Regions from separate parts of the Homo sapiens genome. Here region 1 is linked to region 2. The links are contacts of gene promoters, found by promoter capture Hi-C in human tissues and cell types (Jung and others, 2019). All regions are on one chromosome and are shown on one strand. Each heading gives the region's core, a stretch centred on a gene start or on the middle of the fragment in contact. The rest is flanking DNA. Distances are from core to core; before and after follow the strand shown.

The links. The method cuts DNA at HindIII sites, captures the fragments that hold promoters and counts their contacts. A contact is called where the count stands out against the background at its distance.
Region 1: a contact is called between a fragment that was not itself captured here and the fragment with the promoter of PPP2R5D in region 2, in 1 of the 25 tissues and cell types used here (hippocampus).

What each region holds. Positions count from the first base shown.
Region 1 is chr6:41,937,681-41,941,428 of GRCh38, forward strand. CCND3 (cyclin D3) reads right to left here. Exons shown (of 5, transcript NM_001760.5): 2 at 2,690-2,905. Among named protein-coding and RNA genes, the nearest start is that of CCND3, 2.3 kb to the right of the region's middle. RefSeq lists enhancers at 599-1,414, 1,415-2,230, 1,811-2,105, 3,187-3,316, 3,359-3,748. The HindIII fragment of the contact is 4,830 bases long and covers 1-3,748 here.
Region 2 is chr6:42,983,108-42,986,659 of GRCh38, forward strand. PPP2R5D (protein phosphatase 2 regulatory subunit B'delta) reads left to right here and starts at 1,463. Exons shown (of 16, transcript NM_006245.4): 1 at 1,463-1,597. The coding sequence starts at 1,571. It overlaps LOC124900215 (a long non-coding RNA gene), which reads right to left and starts at 1,207. Exons shown (of 2, transcript XR_007059580.1): 1 at 725-1,207. RefSeq lists an enhancer at 1,242-1,361 and silencers at 1,512-1,581, 1,672-1,821. The HindIII fragment of the contact is 19,136 bases long and covers 1-3,552 here.

The DNA of each region.
Region 1 (3,748 bases), core at 502-3,001, 1.0 Mb before region 2:
CAGGCCTTCTCCTGACTTCATTCAGGGCTCTGAGGATTTCTCCAGCCAGGGCTGAAAGACGGAAGCAGCAGATACCACAGCATCACCATGAACTGGGCTCTCTTCTGGGATGAAGCAGAAAGACTCTCTCAACCCCAAGGATTTGTGAAAGGGGAGATCACCACTAGCTTCCCCTGCAACTCTGCATCCCAGCCAAGTCCACACTTCTTGAATCAACAGAAGGGAGTATGACTCCTCCAATGACAGCCACAGAGCCTTTTCTCAGGTTCCTCAAAGGGGAGATTGCCCAACCCAAGCCACATCCCCTTGGTAGGATATCAGGGATGGGTCCTGAGGTATAGCACCCCACCCCACCCCCTTTAGCTGGAACCCGTAGTGCCCCATGCCACTTGACTTTCAGGAGGATAGGTAGAGGCCAAGCCAGACAGGATGGCTCCAAATGATTCCAGAGGGATCAAGCCCTATCCTCACCTACCCAAGCCTACCTGCCAGTACTAGGTCTCGGGAGAAGGCTGGGAGCTCCACCCCAGTCCACTCGTCATGGGTTCCCAGACCTGGCCCCATTTCTGAGTTGCACACATGAGGATTTCTTCATTGTTTTATCTCAGGAAGGAACTTGTGGGTTTGACTCCTTATTGAGGCAGAAATGGCAACCCCACCCAACCTCTTCCAGGCCCCAGCCACAGCTGTCTCTCTCTTGGCCCCAGCTTAGGTGTCAGCCTCTCAAATCAACCCCTACCCTCACAGAGCCCCAGAGAAAATAGCCTGGCCTGGAGCCAGAAGTGAGACAGATAAATTACAACGCTACCCCTAGTGCATGTCCCAGGAGCCAACTCCTAACTCAGCAGTAAACAGAAGGGACTCAGCTTCTAAGGAAGCATCTGGAAGGCAACTGGGAGTGGGACTCTCCCTATGGGGAGGCAAGGGGTTGTGTTTGAGGGAAAGTGGCCACCTTTCCCCATATCCAGGCAACCAGAGAATCCCAGTGTTAACTGGTGGAGAACACACCCCTGGGAGTGCTTAGCTTCAGTAGGTGGCAGCGGCCATCACATTCCTGACTTTTAAGGCAACCTGGTCTAGCTAGAAGACCCAGGTTCTACACTCATCTGCTCAGTGCGATGCTGAGGCAGGACCTTGCCCTCCTTCCTTGGGCCTCAGCCTCCTCTGCTGCACACGGATTTGGACCAACTGGAGTTCTCAGAGGTCCCTTCCAACCTTGACCTTCTAGGAAGTCTTTTGGGCACTCCACCCCCAGCTCAGGCAGAGGGAAGAGTACTTTTTGCCTGTACTGAAAAACCCTCATACGTGGGCACACAAACCACCTCCATCTTTTCACAAAAAGGAAGTTCCCCTTCTACCTTCCAGCCCCAACCCCTCCAAAAACATCTTGCTCTCTGGCCCTGGAAACTAGCTCCACCTTCAGACTTGCCAAAAACTACCAGATTCATCACAAAGAGCTGTGGCGCCTCCTGGATTCCCAACTCTGGCCTCCTACTCCCATCTCTGAGCTACTTGGCAGGAAGAGGAATCCTGTTCCTCGACTCACAGCAGTCGGGGGCCCCAGTACCCTGGCTTCCCTGCCAGCCAATCACAGCAGCCTGCTTGCTGCCCTCCTCCCTGGGAGATGGGGCCCAGAGACTCCTCTCAGGGTCAGCAGAAGACTTGGCCCGCCACAGAGCAAGGTGGAGGAAGGTGCCAGCTCACCCACCCTCTCCCCCAGCCTCCCTAGGAGACAATCTGCATGTCCTAAATAACCTCTTCCAGATCCAGCAGCTCCCCCGCCTCCTCCCCAGGCTCCTTCTGAGGCGGGACAGAACCGGTGACTTTCCTGCCCGGCCTGAGCCCAGCCCAAGTTTCCAGCAAGAGGCCCAGGGAGCCACTTCCCAAACCACAGGAGTGACAGCAGCTCCCCACAGGGTTATGAAAGACCTTGGTCAGAGAGGGCGGGCCAGGGGAGGGGGCACCATTATCACATCGGAAGCAGATGCAGCTCACCTCCCTGTCTGTCCCTCAGCTTGGGCCTTGGGCTAAGGGGGGAAGAGGGAGCTGTTTCCACCAGGCCCAAAGCAGCTGCTCCAGTTCCTCAGAATGAGGACGAGGAAGGATTAGGAAGAAGCTGTTTCTTCCGGGATATAAGAGGAAGCAAAGAAGGTGGGATGAAATACATCAGCCCTTCCTTAAAGCAATCAGGGCCTGGCTTTAATTGGCTCTGGGAGGCTTTTCTATCACAAAGTCCACATGAGGATAAAGACTCAACCAAGGCAAAACCCCCTCCCCCACATGAAGCACATTCCACTCCCCTACTCCAGTGGGGGTGTGCAGGCATGCCCTTCTGCTGCCAATAAATAACTCATGGTGGCTGCGTAAACCCAGAGGCAAAGTACTAGTGAGTGTAGACATGCAATTTGACTTGTTGCTATCTGGGGGAAAGACCAGGAAGGAGTGGCATCCCCTGGAGGTCAGGAGGAGGGGGTTTAATGCCTGCCTGCAGCTCAAGCCTGGGCGGGAGTGATACTAACCATCACACCACAATGCCCCATCGTTTGTTCCACCCCAATTCCTTTCCCAAAGGTCCTGATCCCCTTGCTTCCTCTCCAGGGGGCAGAAAGCCTCTGATATCTCAAGCTTTCCTTTTCCTGGAAAGTGGGGAGACAATACGTGTCGGGGGTGGGGGGAGTTACACACGCACCCGCAACTGGCGGGGAGAGACAGCGTGGTCGGTGTAGATGCACAGTTTTTCGATGGTCAGGGGCGTGGTCTCGCGCAGCTTGGAGGCCAGCAGCATGCAGACCGCACCCAGGAGCTGCAACTGCGCCTTTCGGGTGGGGACGCAAGACAGGTAGCGATCCAGGTAGTTCATGGCCAGGGGGAAGACTTCCTCCTCACAGCGCTGCTCCTCACATACCTGGGGGAGGGCGCACAGTCACTGCTGGGTCTGGAGCGTGGGGAACACAGCAGCGGGGGGGTGGGAGCGCTGAAGTGAGGTGGGATAGGGAGCAAAAACGGCAGAGAGGGTAAGCTACTTAGAGAGACAAGGACCAATAAAGGAGGAGGATGCGCCCTCCCCAAGGTGACGCCCCCCACTTCCTCTGCGCGGCCTCCTCCCCTCTCCCCTTGACGGGGGAGTGGTAAAGCCAAGGAGCCCTTGCTCACGGAGGATTCCAAACGGAGACTCCCCTCCCCCACAGCGAGGGGAAGTGGGACGCAAGGGTCACCCATGGTAGCCAGAGAGCTGGGACCTCACCCCCATCACCGCCACCACTGCACACACCCGAGGGGAAGGGAGGAGGCTCCTGCCGCTGCCTCCTGCACTTTTCATTTCCCTGTCGGCCGGAACAGGGCGCGCGCCACCCCCATCGCCTTCCCCGCCAGAACCCCGCGAAAGACACAGGAACCGGCTCCCGGGCGGGGGCGGCCGAGCCCAGGGTTTTCCAGGCGCGCTCTCCGGAGAAGGCCGGGAGGCGGAGGGAAGCGGGAGACGCTGTGAGAAGCCGAAGGGGAGAGAGTGTCCTTGGTCCCGTTTGCTCGGCCCGAAGAGAGGCACAGTTAGGGTGCCAAGTGACTGGCAGTCACTGTCGGGAGGAGCCGATTAGGGCTCGGGAAAGCAAGGGAGGCAGCTGGCGTGGGTGCCCTAGTGAAAGGCCAGGCCCCGGGAGTCTTAGCCTCGGAGCATCCTGCAGATTGCTGTGGGGACCGGGATGTCCCGACAGGGCGGCCCCGGTGTGTCCAGACCCGGGAGCGGTGGGGG
Region 2 (3,552 bases), core at 213-2,712:
CTTCAGTCTCCCGAGTAGCTGGGACTACAGGCGCGCGCCACCACGCCCCGCTAATTTTTGTATTTTTCATAGAGGCATGGTTTCACCATGTTGGCCGGGATGGCCTCGATCTCTTGACTCGTGATCCGCCCACCTCGGCCTCCCAAAGTGCTGGGATTACAGGCGTGAGCCACCGCACCCTGTCTAATTTTTGTATTTTTAGTAGAAATGGGGTTTCACCACTATGGTCAGGCTGGTCTCAAACTCCTGACCTCGTGATCTGCCCACTTTGGTCTCCCAAAGTGTTGGGACTACAGGCGTGAGCCACCGAGCCTGGCCACAGGTTTATTCTTTTTGTCGTCATTGTTGCTGTTTTGAGACAGAGTCTTGCTCTGTCGCCCAGGCTGGAGTGCAGTGGTGTGATCTCGGCTCACTGCAACCTCCGTCTCCCGGGTTCAAGTGATTCTCCTGCCTCAGCCTCCCGAGTAGCTGGGATTACAGGCGTGCACCACCACACCCAGCTAATTTTTGTATTTTTAATAGAGACGGGGTTTCGCCATGTTGGCCAGGCTGGTCTCGAACCTCTGACCTCAGGTGATCCTCCTGCCTCAGCCTCCCAAAGTGTTGGGATTACAGGCGTGAGACACCGTGCCTGCCTGGTTTACATTCTCTCTTAATCCTTTGTTTATACACATCTGTGATTCACCAGACTGCGAACTCTTTGTGGGCATAAACTGAGTCTTACCCATTAGAACACGGACTTGAGCAGGGTGGCAAGTAAGGGATGGATTTCCTGAGACAGTCAACAATGAAGTTGCTTTTCCACTGCGTTCCCAACTGCTCAAATCTAGCTGGTTCCCCAATCCCAGTACACTTGCAGTAGCAACGGGGACCCTCTTCCTAAAGTTGCACCAAGCCAGGGATTCTCCACTCATTTCGCCCAGGTCCTAGCCCTGCCAGGCTTCCCCTTTGCTCCTCTGCAACCCCTGTCTAGGGAGGCGGGTGTCTTGGAAGGTCCTTGGGAGCTCCCTCCATCAATTTTGCATCTGCAATTAGGGCTACTTTACCCCAGTGAAGAAAGGTGCCCTCCGTATTAGGGCTTCCTTCCTCCAATTCCGACTGGACAGGGTAGCAGAGCGGGCAAAGTGTGAGAGCCTTTAGAAGGAAAGAGCAGGGCTCCAAGCGCCGCGAAGAATGGCCGAGGCCGACGCACAGCAGACGCTGGAGTGCAGCCCTCCTAGCCAAGCTTGGGTTTCCCCTTATCCCCGCCTCCTTCTCTAAGCTCGACCCACTTTAGGGCGGGACCACCCACTTCAGCCAATTCTGGAAGCCGAACCCTGGCGGTTTGTACTATTTCTTTCCAATAAGAAAAAAAGGAAGCAGCTTGGCTCCAATGACCAATCCGAGGAGGCGGCGCCTGGTTGTCAGGCAGTTTTGTAGGAGTTCGGGCCAATTGGAGGCGCAGGCACCGCTCGACCCGGGCGCAGCGCGCAGGCGGTGGCGAAGAGACGCCGAGCGGGCCGAGTGCGGCCGAGCAAAGCCGGAGCCGGAGCGGGGCCGCAGGAGACGGGCCGGGTCCGGACGGGCCGAGATGCCCTATAAACTGAAAAAGGAGAAGGTGAGCGTGGCCCTTTTTCCCCCACCGCCGCCTTGGAGCCTGCGCGGAGCTCTGGGAGGGGCCGGAGCCAGGCCCGGGACAGCCCCAGACTGACCCTCCCGTCCAGCCCCCGCAGGACTCCTGGGGCCAGCCCTCCGCCCCCGCGGCTGGCAGCACCCCCAGCTTGTGCCGCAGCTAGGACAGCTCCCCCACCTTGCCCCGGAGAGACTCCCCCCACATACACCTCCCTCCCTTCTTCCCTTCTCTTACCCCCGGCCCAGGGTAACCTCCTTCTTCCAGATCTGCCCCATTCCCAGGTCACTGTCCTGCTTTTTCTGTCCCCCCCATCACCCCTGGCCCCGATCCCCCTTCGGTTTGGGCAGCCCCTCATCTGAAACTGCACCTTCCTCCAGAATTGCCCCCTCGCCCCGCCCTGAGCAGCCCCTTGTCTCCTCTTCCTACCCGCCTGGGACAGCCGCCCCGCAGTCCCCTACGGCCCCTTCTCTTTCCATGCCAAGCCCCTGACCTAGAACAGCGCTGCTTTCTCTCTCCTCCACCCAAATCTGGCCTAGGCCCCTCCCTCTAGTTCTTCCTTCACACACAAACTTGTAAGCAGGACTGAGCCCTTCTGTTGATGGAACCTCACAACGTTGGTGCTGGAAGGGACCTCTGAGCGCATGCAGTGCAATCCCTAATGGTACAGATGAGGAGACTGAGGCCCCGACAGGGCAAGGGACTTGTCCAAGGTCACACAGCCTGCTGGAGGCCCAGCTGCAATATCAGGTCTCCTGACTTAAAGGCCTCTTTTGTATCAAAGCCCTCCTAACTGTCACCCAAGTGCATCCTAGACCAGTCACCTTTCCTAATCTGAGTAGGCTCCTCACCCTTATTCTTAATCCTAGGATAACCTTTGCATTTTTCCTTTTTTTTTTTCTTTTCGCACCAGTGCTGGATTTCTGCCTTTCCTAAGCTACACCATCTTCAAATTGGGAATTTGTCCTCACTGTCAGATTATTGTTCCTTCTTAGCCTGCAGGCCAGCCACCCCTGAACACCCATGTCTTTATCATGATGTCCTGACACAGGCCATTTCTTTTTTTTTTTTTTTTTTTGAGATGGAATTTTGCTCTTGTTGCCCAGGCTGGAGTGCAATGGCGCGATCTCGGCTCACCACAACCTCTGCCTTCTAGCTTCAAGCGATTCTCCTGCCTCAGCCTCCCAAGTAGCTGGAATTACAGGCATGCGCCACCACATCCGGCTAATTTTGTATTTTTAGTAGAGACGGGGTTTCTCCATGTTGATCAGGCTGGTCTTGAACTCCTGACCTCAGGTGATCTGACCCCCTCGGCCTCCCAAAGTGCTGGGATTACAGGTGTGAGCCACCGTGCCTGGCCCACAGGCCAGTTCTTAATGTTGCCTTCTTTCACCTTCCTCATCTACCTCGGTGCTGCCTTCCCCTGCTCCTCATCCGTGCCTTTTTCTACCCTCTGTTTCCTGCTGTTGCTGAGGTCTGACTCAGAGGTGTGGTTCCTTTGAGGTACAGACTCACACATAGGATGCTAGGATACCAGTTCCAGCCTCCCCCAGCTTCTCCTCTCCTGGGGCTGGCCCTTTTTGGTGGGGGTTGGCTCTGGCCTGGTGTTCTGGCCACCTGCTCGATGACCCCAGAGGTATATTGCTTTCATTTGCCCTCTGATTGGCTGGGTTACTGGGCTGCCATCTCTGACCTTTTCAATCAAACTTTTTCTCCTGGGGCTGTTCTGTATTTGCCAGGCAGCTCTGATTCTGAGTTGTCCCCTTAACCTTTCAGGGCCTGAGGTTCTAAGTACAGGGTTGGTGATGGTGTACTAGATAGTGAGCCTCCTGGGAGTAGTGAGCTGGACAGGGTTTTGTGCCCCACCCAGGCCCTGTCCTTGGGGAGTGGGCATGCGGAGGTGGTTTGGGTAGCTCAGTCGTAGACAATGCACACAGAAATCA